Regions from separate parts of the Homo sapiens genome. Here region 2 is linked to region 1. The links are contacts of gene promoters, found by promoter capture Hi-C in blood cells and fetal thymus (Javierre and others, 2016). All regions are on one chromosome and are shown on one strand. Each heading gives the region's core, a stretch centred on a gene start or on the middle of the fragment in contact. The rest is flanking DNA. Distances are from core to core; before and after follow the strand shown.

Region 1 (6,466 bases), core at 784-3,283:
GATTAAAAGCCATGTAATCTGGGAACCTCTGTAACAAAATGAAAATGAACTAGGAAAATAGCTTCTTACTACTTCTCTAAAAATAAAAGGCTGTAATTTTGTCATAATTACACAAAGGTAGGTGAGACTTTCATCTTTACCCAGCATTACAACTTATTTCCATCCATAGGTATTACAATTAACGTTGCTTTGAATGCACATATAGTTTAATACCGAGAATAAACTATTATTTTATGACACTACATGTGTTTTAAACTGAACCCACTATCATAACACATATTAAGGGTAGTCCTTCAGCACATACTCTCTACCCAGAGAAAAGATTCCCACACAGCTTTCCATGTACTCGTTTTTAAAATGTACACATATTATCGGACACAAATGAGAAACTAACGAGCAGCAGTGAGGTACACCATATGTTTCCATTGTAGGCTGAATCCAGGTCTTTGTTCCAATATTCCAGAGCCACTGGGAAGAAAGCTAACTATCCATTCATTAAAATTCATTTTTACATTATTGCTGGCAAAAGTTATACTTTTGATAGATTAAGTCAGAGCCCATCCTATCCTGACTATTCCTGCCTGCACTTGCTTCTTTAATACGGATTTCTTGCAATTCTAGGAAACTGCAAAATAACCACCCTGGATAACAGGTCGGTAGCAGGACAATCTGATAAACCAACGTAAAGGGTAGACACTGAAGAAGAATGCAAAGTTATTTTCCTAGTGAAATAGTTCAGAAGTTATTCTATATCAATAGCAAAATTTTTGCTTTTTATAGGCTACGCACCTATAACATCCACCAGATAACATCCACCTCGTCCTCAATTAGCAGGATTTTTCTCAATCTTCAGATCTCCCAGAACAGTTTTACTGGTGCAACTCAAACCAAAAACACTAACCACGCCCTTTATACCCAGAGTCAAGCTTCCTTTTGCTTTTTTGCCCTTAAAGTCGAAAAATGTAAATCTTTCACCCGAGAGGTTTTGCACCGGTTTCCTAACCCAACGCGGACTCTTTTAGCTGTGTCTTGATGTAATTCCTATTGGAAGACGTTTTCTCCAGGGCAGTGCAGACGCCCCGAAGAAGGACCCACGCTTACCTCCCACACACCTGCAACCCCTGACGGGATGCTGGAGCTTGTGCTCGGCGGACTGTGCTCCGCTCCGCTCTCGTTCCTGCTTTCGTCTCTCCCGGGAAACTACAGTCCAGACTGCGCCTCTGGCTTCTACAGGGACCCAAGCTCCGCCTCTCCCTCCTCTAGTTGGCGAATTTGGCAGCTGTTGCTCCTCCCCCTGCTGTTTCTGCAGCTGCCCGGACCGGAGGCAGCGGAAAGCAGCTGCCCTGGTACCTTTCCGCTCCCTGCACTTCTGCAGCTGCTCTGCCACTTCCACTCCCGTGGGGGTCCCTCTCCCCTCCTCTGTGGCTCACACCTGGAGCGGCCTCCTGCCCCACCCAGGCGTCTCTGCTGGGAGCCCCGGCTCAGCCTATCCTTCCCCGACCTGTGTGTCCGGATGCCCGGTGTGCCTGGGGCTTAGCTGCTCTCAGGGAAGCTGCCCCTCTGCCCAGTGCAAGTCCCCACACCAAGCCCTCCCTTCACCTGGGCGATTTCCCCGAGGCTTCCTCTCCACCCACACGGCATACTCAGCCCGACAGCCCCAGGATCCCCACCACAGGCCCCTCACCCCCTTCCTTCCTCTGCTCTGTCAGCCCGCCCCCTCAATGGGTGAGGCGCCTGCGGGGCCTACTCCGCACCCTGATTGGCGCAGGTGAGGGCTTGCCCCGCCCTTCCTCTCCTTTCCGTGCACCATCTCTCTTCATCTCACCTCCTCCCGCAAAGGCAGGGAATTCTCCTACTATTGGCTAGAAGTGTCACCACCCATCGCCTCAGGATCCCCCGCATGGCCTGCCGGGAAGTGTAGTCTTCCGATTGCAGGAATTGCGGACAACGCCGGCGAGCGGGACTACGAGTCCCCATAAGCCTCTGCACGACTCCGGCTGGGCAGGATTCCGGACAACGCCTGGTTCCTCTTGGGTCCTTCCGGCGTCGCCGGAGTGAATTGATCCGGGAGTTGAAGAGGGCTGCAAGGTGGGAAGTGAAGTCAGTGCCTCAGTTGCTGGTAAGGTGTAGCTGTTCTGTCCCAGTCCCCGTAGCTCTGCACCGAGCAGAAGAGGTCTAGGGTCACGCAGGGGCCATGGCTGAGGCACTTGGGCTTGGTTCTGGCAGGCGGAGCGGACGGGGCTGAGAGCGGGGCCCTACGGGCGTAAGCGAGGTTACCCTACGCGAGTGGCGTAAAGCGGGTTTGTAAATGCCGCCTGCCGGCTTGGGCCCGAACGCCTCCAGGAAGTCTCCTCTAGGTGGGGGCGGGAGGGGAAGGGCGAGGTTGGCCCCTGGTGCCCCGGGAGAGGGGACAGGGCGGATGTGCCTGGGGTGGGGTCCTTTGAAGGTGTGGCTTCGGACCGAGAGGTGAGGCTGCTGTTTTCCCCCTGCTTTGTAAGTAAGAGAAAAGGGAGGAGGAAGGAAAGGGTGCTTGGGAGTCGGCTCTTGGGGGTGACTCGGGTTATGCCCTTTGAGGGAAGAGGAGCACTGGAAGAAGGAAGAGACAAATGTTGGGGTCTACGGATTCAGTTCCAGTTTAATGATGTGGCCCTCTAAGGAGATAATTTTGCCTTAAACAGAAAGACTTGACCCTCTTAGGTGTCATACCTAAGGTATGTTTTTACTCCTTTACTGCTTTCAGAGCGCTTTCATTTTGGGATGCTGATGAGGAAACCGAGGGATTATATGACGTGCCCAAGGTCACACACGTAGGGACAGACTTTCTGAATCTAGTTCGGTTCGAGTCCAGCTTTAGAGTAGGGACGTTGGTTGTGCTTTTTGAAAAGGGTGGAGGAAGTTACAAAGTAAATGTATTTTATATAGTATATCTAAGAAGCCATTGTGAGATAAAAAGTTGTTTCTTGAACCGGAGTGAAATTCCTCAATAAAGGAAAGATCCTTTTGGAAAAAATAAAAATGGCCAGTTTCAACTTTTACAGATTTTTCCCCTTTTTTTAGGGGTGTATTAAATGATAGACTCTACTCTCACAGTTCATTTTTACGGGTAGGTAATAGGATGGGAGAACAACAGTTAAACAATATATCCCATCCTTAGAAGAATATTCTTTTCTTTTTCTACCTTAGGACTGTTTTTACTCTCATTTTGTAAAACTGATAATAGTGGGATTGGAATTCTTTCACAAAACTACACTTTTTTCAAATAATGTAGCGTTAGGAGAGTTTAGTGTGCCCATTACTAGAAAAGAAGGTATTTTGCATTTCTTGGAGGTAACATCGTCTTTTTTGAGACTTTACTTTTCCCCCATTTTCTTGACTCTGGGCTGTATTTGTGTGTGTGTCTGCAAATAATAAAATTGGGCTCTTGCATATTTTTATTTTTCTTAGCATCAACTGTGACTTTCAATTCATTCTTACTTTACATTGAAGAATGAAAAAACAGTACACGTATAGTTCATATCTTGCAGAAAGTAGTGCCTTTATGCAAGTCTTATCCTCTATAATGATTATGACCAGTTATAGCTCATGACTATTATTATTGGATAAGTTTTTAATAGAATTGTTAGAGTATGTTCATTGATGGCAGAATTTATTTGTGATAACTTTATATCCATACAGGTTAGCATGTAATAAATCATGGCTTACTCTTAACATGTAATAAATCATAGCTTACTGTTTTATATATAAGTTGATCATCAGACTATGCTGAATTTTGAATGTACTCTGCAGTTACTATATTATCAACAATGTGCTTCACTTTTTAATGGAAAAACATTTTTTCGGAACAGAGGTATTATCTTCCCTGATGGTTGAAATTAAGATGGTCTGGAAATTAATACGATTTTTAAAATAGAAAAAGTATGATACTATAGAATGAAGTAAAATCAGGAATAATGTACCATAAGTAATGTAGTACACAGACAAGGAAGACCCAGTTAAACAAATGGAAAATTATGTGGTGATAACTGACTTTGTGCTGGATTAAGAAAGGTGCAGTGATGTAAGTAGACCGTAAACTGAACATGAGTCAGTGATGGTAAAGCAAGAATATTAATCTGTTTTCTAGATGACAATGTAGGTATTTGCCTTTTGTTGAAGGAGGTATGAAATAAGTTCTAACCTTTGGCATGTAACTCTGTCATTATGGAAAGAGCTTTTGAACTATGAGGAAATTTTGGAAATTAGTTAATGTAATGCATTTGTTCAGTGTGTTTTAGATTTTGTTCTTGGTTCATTTCTGCCACTACTCTTTATCTCTGAGGCCAATTATAGTTTTGATATTTCTTCTATTCGGATGGTGGATTAATGTTTGTATTGTTGTTATCATCTTTCAGTCACATGCTGCGGTACTGTTGTCACTTTAGATCTCTGCACGTTGGATAATTAGGAGTTCACAGAGTTATGTGTACACGTGGTTTGCAGCTCACCAGTGTCTGCATTTCTTCTCATTTTGAACTTTGCAGGAGCCTTATGTCAGCTTTTGGACATTATTTCTTAGAGGACTTGGGATGTCTTCCGTATATTATACATCTGTCTGTTTCTCTTAAGGATGTAAGGTCTGTAAGAATAGGGGCTGTTTATTATTGTAGTCTGAGTAGGTAAGATAATATTTACAAAGAGAATGAAGAGGCTCAAGTTGGTTAAGTGACTTGTAACTGGTGGGAGTAAGACAAAATCGAGATCTTCTGACTACAGATCTTTAATATTTTGGAGTAAAGACTTAGTTCCCTTAGATTATTTACATGAGAAGAAGACTTAACGTGACTTAAATATTCAAATACTATTACCTTCTTACTCTGTTTAACACTAAAAATTTATCTCTTCTCCTATCCAGCTCTCCGTCCTTATCTCCAGCCTTTCTCATTTACCATGCCTTTCAGTTACTACATACATAAGCTGCTTCCTGACTTGGTGGCCTTTACATATTCCGTCTCACTCCTTGGACTGTTCCCCTCACGCCTACCTAAATGTGGCCACCTGGTAGTCAGTTTTCACGTCTCAATTTAAATATCGTTCGTCAGGGGAGCCTTGCCCGCCTTCCCAAAATCAGAATAGGTTTCCGCCATGTATTCACCATACTCTGTACTCCTTTGTGGCATCATCATAATAGAAACTTAATTATTTCTGTATTTATTTGACAAATACTGTCTCCTCACTGGACTATAAGCTCCCTGAGCAGGGCCCTCTCATTTGTCATGTTTTACCCCACTACTTACGCAGTACCTGGCACATTGTAAGGGTTCAGTAAATATTTGCTGAATGAATGAAGGAGTGTATTCATGCACAGTGCTTCCAGCACTTCTCTGGGGACAGAAATAGAGAAATGAATAAAGCGGATATGCTTTCTGGATTGAAGTATATAAGAACTTTCAAATGAGCCATAATGCTTAGGCAATTTAGGTTATATGTAAAGGAGTCATTGACAGAATTTTAATATAAATTGTGGAAAAATGTTTGTTCTTTTTGGAGGTCTCTGAAATCAGGATTAATTTTCTAAGTGGAAATGATAAAGGAATCACTTTCATTTGCCGCAGAATTGCTGTGTAACACAGCATTTTAGAGACTTATCACTGTCCTGCTTTTTGCAAGCGATATTCATTATAACAAAATATAGACATGGAAGAAACTTCTAATGGACTCTTCTTCCCTAATGTTGTCTCGTTTTGCCCTAAAAACCTTTATTTCCTCTAGGTAGTAGTATTAATACTGTTTTATAGCTGAAGACATCAAGAAAATAAGTAAATTTACTTATTAAACTAAAAAAAGTTTAATTAAATTGCTAGAGTTTCCAGAACGTTGGTACTGGAACCATGGTTAGAATCTGGATCTATCTCCGTATTCTAGAATCCATAATTTTTTCTTTTTCTTTGCTTTTTTGTTTTGTTTCTTGCTTTTTAACCTTGCTATCTTCCTATGAATTATACCTTTAATATCACTTGATTTAGACAAGGTGGCTTTGTAAAATTGAGTAGTTTTTGTTTCAAAGGAACTTATATTTTGGGTTTCCTGAAAATTTTTCTAATACTTTTCTAATCTTATTTGCTTTATAGCTGGAGACTTAAGCATAAAAAGATTATTTTTAAAACATACAAACTGAATTTTAGGGATAAATTGTGTTAGGTTTTGGTCTTGGAAACAAGTTCTGCAGTCATTTGTAGTACCACGGTATGGCATAGAGTAAGGTCAACAGCCCTGAGTTTCTGTAGCCTTGTATGCCTTCATGGATTTACCAGTTTACTCTTCCACAAGATCTTGTCAAAAAGAGATTGCTGATAATTTGGCTTTAAAATTTGGTAATACTATCCATTTTATTATTAAAAACAAGTCTTTGCTAAATCCTAAACTTACTTTTTAAAAAGTCAGTGTTGATGTTACTTGAATCTTGGATAAAATTTTCATATTTACCTAG
Region 2 (6,637 bases), core at 26-2,525, 6.5 Mb after region 1:
GAAGAAGTCTATGCGATTTTTAGACAAATTATTAATTATGTGCTTCCGGATAGTGCATTTAATATCTTCTTATGACTGATTTATCCCTCAAACTTGGAGCAGCACAGACCGTGTCTAATCTGTCTCATGACAGCCTTTCAAATATTTGAAGAGTACAACCATTTTTTTTTCTAAATCCTCTCATCCCAAATTTCAAGGAATAAGCAAAGGCGTTTTGTAGAGGGTGATCAGAGACAGCCTCTCATCATTTCTTGCCCAGAATACTTAAGTAGCCTCTCGTCTGTTGTCTCTACTTGTAGACTTCAATTCATCCTTCTGAAATGCAGTTCTGATTTTGTCACACTCCCCTGCTTTTAATCCTTCAGTGGCCTCTGATTACCTTCAGCATTATTTCCAGTTTCTTTGTGTGGAAAGAAGACCTTTCAGGATCTGATCTCCACATATCCTGTCCTACTCCCAAGCACACGTACTCGCAAGCCATGAAGACCAACTGGCAGGTCCTCACAGAAAATAGTCTTCCTTTGCTTCTACCCGGGACTCGGCACTAAAGATTAAGCCTGAATTAGTTTCCTAGTGCTGCTCTAACAAATTATCACTGATTTAGTTGGCTTAGAAAACACAAATTTGTTCTCTTCCAGTTCTGGAAGCTACAGGTCTAAATAGATGGTGAGGGCTGACTCTGGAGGCTCCAGGAGAAAATCCATTCCCTGGCCCTTTCCAACTTCTACACGCTGCCCACATTCCTTGGCTTGTGGTCCCACATCATTTTGCAGTCAGAGTCTCCTTTTCTCACCCCCACCCCCCCGCACCCCTCTTACAAGGACACTTGTGATTTCACTGGGCCCAACCAAATAATCCAGAATAATCTCTCCATCTCAAGAAATTTAATCACATCTGTAAAGTTCGTTTGCCATGTTAGGTAATATATTCACAGATTTCAGGGAATAGGACATCTTTGCAGAGCCATTATCCTGTCCACCATACATCCTCTCTTTTCTGACTCCTTCGGTCCCTAAGGGCCAGAGGAGTTACATGCTCCTTCTGTATATATGGTTCTATGATAACACCTTTATACGAGGTATATGCCTCTATAATAGTGCTTTGAATTGGATCATAAATTTTCTACTCTGCATGCCCAGCAGTTTCAAAACCCTGGAGAGCAATTCGGGTCTTGTTCTTCTTGGTGCACCTAGCACAGCAGCTGACACAAAACAGACCCTCAATATATATTGGTAAATTAATTATCCATTTAATACCCACCACAACTCTGAAGAGACAGTGTTTTTCTCCCCGTTTTTTCTATTCACACTGCCTATGCCCTCAACCAAACACCACTAGGAACACAGCTGTAGTTAAGCAGCTTCTGTCTATTTATTACTCTTCGAAGTGAGCCCAGACACTCACCATGGATACCCTTTGGGTATCTCAGTAAGAGGGTGTTTAGAACAAACCTATCATAGGATTGGGGCTTTGGGCGGGTGTTTTCGGGGAGGCCCTAAGAAAATAGAGGTTTTTCTATAGATTGGATGCTGTCAGAAAGCAGGGGCAATTCTGTGATTGGATGTCTCAGTAAATCTTATTTACACAAAGGGAAGCAGGAGGATAAAGCTGCAATTAGCAAAGAAGTAGCAGTCACTCATTTTGGTGAAGAAAGGGAATGTTTGGTATTTTGTGGGTGGCATAGTGAACTTATTTTGGTCTGTGCTTAGACAAAATTATGAAGTGACCTTCTTTGCCTCATTTTATCATGGTTTCAGAGTAATCTTGTCTGAGTTTAGTATTCTGTGAAATTATTTCTGTCTAATAGGAAAATATTATGGCATAGCTGCAAGTACCAGACCAGCTTCTAAATGTCAAAGGCTGCTCATTTTTTAACACATTCCTTCTACAATTATTTGATTTGGCTCTGAATACCAGGCTTCTTAAGCACTTGATGTATGATAATAACAGCACAGATATGGTCCCTGCCCTCATGGACCTTACATATTACAGATGAGGCTGGATTAGATTAGGCAATTTGTTGAAAGTCCTATAGCAAATAATTGATAGAACTGGGACGTGAAATACAGTTTGTTTCTGAACCCAGACCCTCACCATAGCAGCCTACCTCCCCTTCTGAGGCTGAGGCCGTCTATTCCTATCCACAACCTTTTGATAAATGAAATACTTCTGTAGTAGAAGGCACCTATATTTCTCTCTTCATCTGCCAGCCCCCACCACTAAGATTTCCAGATGTCAAAAGTAAGTTCTTGATTTCAACTACCTCTCTCATGAGCCTGAATGAGCTTGCTAGGATTGGACTGAGTGGGATAATATTGGCAAACAATACCAGAGGGAAACTCACTTTGCACTTTTTATTTAACCTCAAATCTCACCTGAAAATAATAGGTGAGATTATTTTCAGCTCCCATAGTCCTTGCACTGAGGATATCTATCTGTATTCAAATCTAAGCCTTAGTATATGTTTACAAACTTCATTTCTATGTGTTTAACCATGGTATTAAAATGGAATTCCTGGCCGAACATAATGGCTCATGCCTGTAATCCCAACACTTTGGATGGCCAAGGTGGGAGGATCGACTGAGGCCAGGTTATCCTGGACAACATGTTGAGACCCCCACCTCTAAAAAATAAAAAATAAATATAAAACAATCAAATTAGCCAGGCATGGTGGTATGCACCTGTAGTCGTAGCTACTCAGGACACTGAGGCAGAAGGATCACTTGAGCTTAGGAGGTCAAGGCTACAGTGAGCCAAGATTGCACTACTGCACTCCAGCCTGGGTGAAAAAGGGAGACCCTGTCTCAAAAAAAAAAAAAAAAATCTGCTAATCAATGAAATAATGAAATTCTACACAGAACTTTCAAATGCATACTGTGATATTTTTCACACTATCAAATGTGATAGCACATTTGGGGATATCAAGATAATATTGGAGATTAGTGCAGGGGAGGTGTATTAGGGTATCCTCTTAGAATCAACACCTGTGGAATAGAAGGGCAGAAGCACCATTGGGCAGAAGGGAGCTGTGCTGCCGTGCAGTCTAGTGGAAGCCTCAGCTAACCCTGTGGGAAGCTCTGAAGCTGAAATGACCATTCTGAGTTTTCCCGAGGGGGACTTTGCTCATCGATGAGTCATTGGATGTGACTGTCCCAGGAAAAGGACATAGCATTGGGTGATATTTCTCTCTTCAGCCAAGGCAGTCCCAGAAGTAGATGAAACTGAGGGCTTTCTGCCAGCAGCACTCCCTGCTGTTGTGGGATAAGTACTTCATTCCTTGAGGGGGATCTGGGCAGTACCTCACAGCCACAGCATGCGCCATGTAGAAAGCAGTATGCCTAGGAGAGTCGGTGGAAGACATGGACTCTAAAGTCCTTGTTTCAAGTCTGAGATTTGTGACTGATAGATTCTGTGACCCTAAGGATTTGCTTTACCACTCTGAGCCTTTCTAAAAGCTCCTTTCCTCCTTTCTAAAACTATGTAATAATCCCTACCTCAGAAAATTGTTATGAGAATTGACTGAGATAAGGTACATAGAAGTGTTTAGTAAACTGCAAAATACTATAATGATTGTAGGCCCTGTTATTCTCTGGTGAAGATCCTTAATAGGAATTGAGTGAAGCAATAAGAAATGGTTTGTATCTGAAACAGCCAATGTATCAAATTTGAAACATTACACCTGCGATTCTGCTTCACCCTTAATTTACAATATAAAGACATCATTTAGTAAATGAAATAAAAATTTAGTGTTCACTTTGTAAAATTTGTTAGGGGTAGTGAATATCTGAGTTACTGGTGGCAAATAGATACAGGTCTGCAGCAACCTCAATTCTTGCCTTCTCGGCAGAAAGAATTTGACTGAGGGGCATAAGGCAGAAAAAGAGACTGAAGCAAGTTTCAGAGCAGGAGTAGAAGTTTATTTTAAAGCTTTAGAGCAGGAAAGAAAGGAAAGTACACTTGGAAGAGACCCAGGCAAGAACTGTGGAGGTCAAATGTGGTGTTTGACCTTTTGACTTGGGGTTTTATATGTTGGCATATTTCGGGTGTCTCCGCATTCCTTTTTTCATGATTCTTCCCTTAGAGTGGGCAGCCCACATGCATGATGCTGTCCTTGCGCTTGAGAGATGAGCAGGTGCAGTGTGTTTAAGAAGTTGTATGCATGGCCACCTGAGGCTTTTTTCCCTTTTCCGGTGGAATGCTCCCGGAAGGTCATATAACCAGTTAAAGTCTGCCATTTTACCTTTCAATGTACATACTCAAGCCCACTCGCCCAATTCCTGAGATTTTATTGGAAGTTGTTGATTACCAATTTCAAGTGTTTTTATCCATTGGGAAATTGCCTCTCCCTGGTGCCTGCAACCAATTATTATTTTTAGAAAGGTGATGTGACAACTGCCAGACCATCACCTGATGGTTGCCTGACATTCCTGGTGGGTAGGGGAAGCCCTCTCCTGTCCAGCTCTTGCCTAATTACCACTGTAACAGATTCATTCAGCTATACATTATAATCTGTGCCTATTTCTGCCTGTGTATTTCCTTCAACAAAAAGTTTTAAAAGTACAAATAATATGTTAACATAGAATCCCAGCAAATACAATAGAAAAGATGAAATAAAATTACGATAATAATACTTGTACAATTTCTCCATTATTACAAATTCCAAAATATGAGACTGAATTTATAATATTTTATTATAATTTTTAAAAGATGTAATCACTGAACAACCTCTAACTTTTACATGTTAGTGATGGGGGAGAATAACACTATGTATAGGTTGAGTATCCCTAATCCATAATCCAAAAATCCAAAATCCAATATGCTTCAAAATCTGAAATTTTTTGAACACTAACATGACACTCAAAGGAAATGCTCATTGAAGCATTTCAGATTTGGGGTTTTCAGATTTTGGATTCTCAATCAGTAAGTTTTAAACCAAAAAGTATCTGAGACAAGTCTCAATTTAGAAAGTTTATTTTGCCAAGGTTAAGGACGCACCTATGACACAGCCTCAGGAAGTCCTGACGACATGTTCACAAGGTGAACAGCTTGCTTTTATACATTTTAGAAAAACATAATACATCAATCAACACATGTGAGATTTACATTGGTTCCATTTGGTAAGGCAGGACAACTTGAAGAGAGGTCGTGGGGAGCAGGGTGGTGGCAGTGGCGGGGGGTTCCAGGTCATAGGTAGATTTAAACATATTCTGATTGGCAATTGGTTGAAAAAGTTTTTATCAATAGAAAGGAATATCTGGATTACAATAAGGTGTTGTGGAGACCTAGGTTTTACCAGGGAGATGAGGCGTCCAAGTAGCAGGCTTTAGAGAGAATAGATTGTACATGTTTCTTATCAGAGTTAAGGTCTGTGTTGACATTCATGCTGGAGGATTATAATGACACTTGTTATGCAAGTCTCAGAGTCCGAAGGTTGAGTCTGATGTCCAAGGGCAGGAGGAGAGGAAGTCAAGTGTCCAGCACCACACAGCGGGAGAGAGAGAGCCCAAGCAGACTCAGCAAGCGAGCTACTCATCCCTCTTCTTCTGTCTATGTTCCAGCCACTGGCAGCAGATTGCATGGTTCCTACCCACTCTGAAGGTTGTTCTTCCCCTCTCCCAGGCCACTGACTCAAATGTCAGTCTCTTCTGACAACACCCTCACAGACACACCCAGAAGCAATACTTCACCAGCCATCTACACATCCTTCCATCCAATCAAGTTCATACCTAATATCAACCATCACAGATGTCAATTCTCCTAAATTTGATGTCATTTTAATGCAATTCCTATCAAAATTCTAGCAAGAGTTTTTTGTAAATGTACAGAAGATTATTCTAAAATTTATATGGGAAAGTAATGGAACTAGAACACCTAAAACAATTTTAAAAAAAAGTGGGAAAAATTATTCAACTTAGTTTTAAGACTTATTATGGGACTACAGTAATCAAGATTGTTTGGAATTGGTGAAAGGATAGACACACATCAGTGGAAGAGAATAGGGAACCCAGAAAAAGACCCTCCAAACCAGTGTTCAATGGATTTTGACAAAACTGCCAAGCCAAGTCAGTAAAGATAGCCTTTTCAACTATAGCCAGTGGACATACAGAGGGAAAATAATAAACTTCAACCTAAGTCTCACATCTTAGATAAAAATTAACTCAAAATGGATCATGAATTTAAAGCAAAATGTAAAACTAGAAAACTTTTAGAAAAAAAAAAGAACATTTTTACAATCTAGAACTAGGCAAAGAGTGCTAAGCCCTGACTTCGGAAACAAGATCCACAAAAGAAAAACTGACAAGTTGGAGTTCATTAAAATTAAAAACTTTTGCTCTGTTAAAGGCCCTGTTAAGAAGATAAAAAGACAAGCCAAAGAGTAGCAGAAATATGTGCAAACTGTATTCAACAAAGAACTAGTATCTATTAATAAAATAGATATAAAGAACTCTCAAAATTTAACAGAAAATCAAGCAGCCCAATTAGAAAATTGGCAAAAGATATGACAACATTCCACTGAAGAATGTATATAGAAGTCAAGCATACATGAAGATGTTCAACAATATTAGTCATGAGAGGTATACAGATTAAAAACACAATAAAATATCACTGCCTCTATTGGAATGGCTAAAATAAAAAA

Evidence for each region. Contacts are between HindIII fragments. The CHiCAGO score rates a contact against its expected background, and 5 or more counts as called.
Region 2: a contact is called between a fragment that was not itself captured here and the fragment with the promoter of PDCD10 in region 1, in 1 of 17 cell types (non-activated CD4 T cells). The highest score is 5.3, in non-activated CD4 T cells.

Annotation. Positions count from the first base shown.
Region 1 is chr3:167,730,459-167,736,924 of GRCh38, reverse strand. It overlaps PDCD10 (programmed cell death 10), which reads left to right and starts at 2,033. Exons shown (of 9, transcript NM_007217.4): 1 at 2,033-2,263; 2 at 2,575-2,711. It overlaps SERPINI1 (serpin family I member 1), which reads right to left and starts at 1,204. Exons shown (of 9, transcript NM_001122752.2): 1 at 1,102-1,204. RefSeq lists an enhancer at 1,782-2,221 and a silencer at 2,272-2,401. The HindIII fragment of the contact is 6,113 bases long and covers 929-6,466 here.
Region 2 is chr3:161,214,211-161,220,847 of GRCh38, reverse strand. No RefSeq gene overlaps it. Among named protein-coding and RNA genes, the nearest start is that of NMD3, 3.8 kb to the left of the region's middle. The HindIII fragment of the contact is 5,309 bases long and covers 1-3,929 here.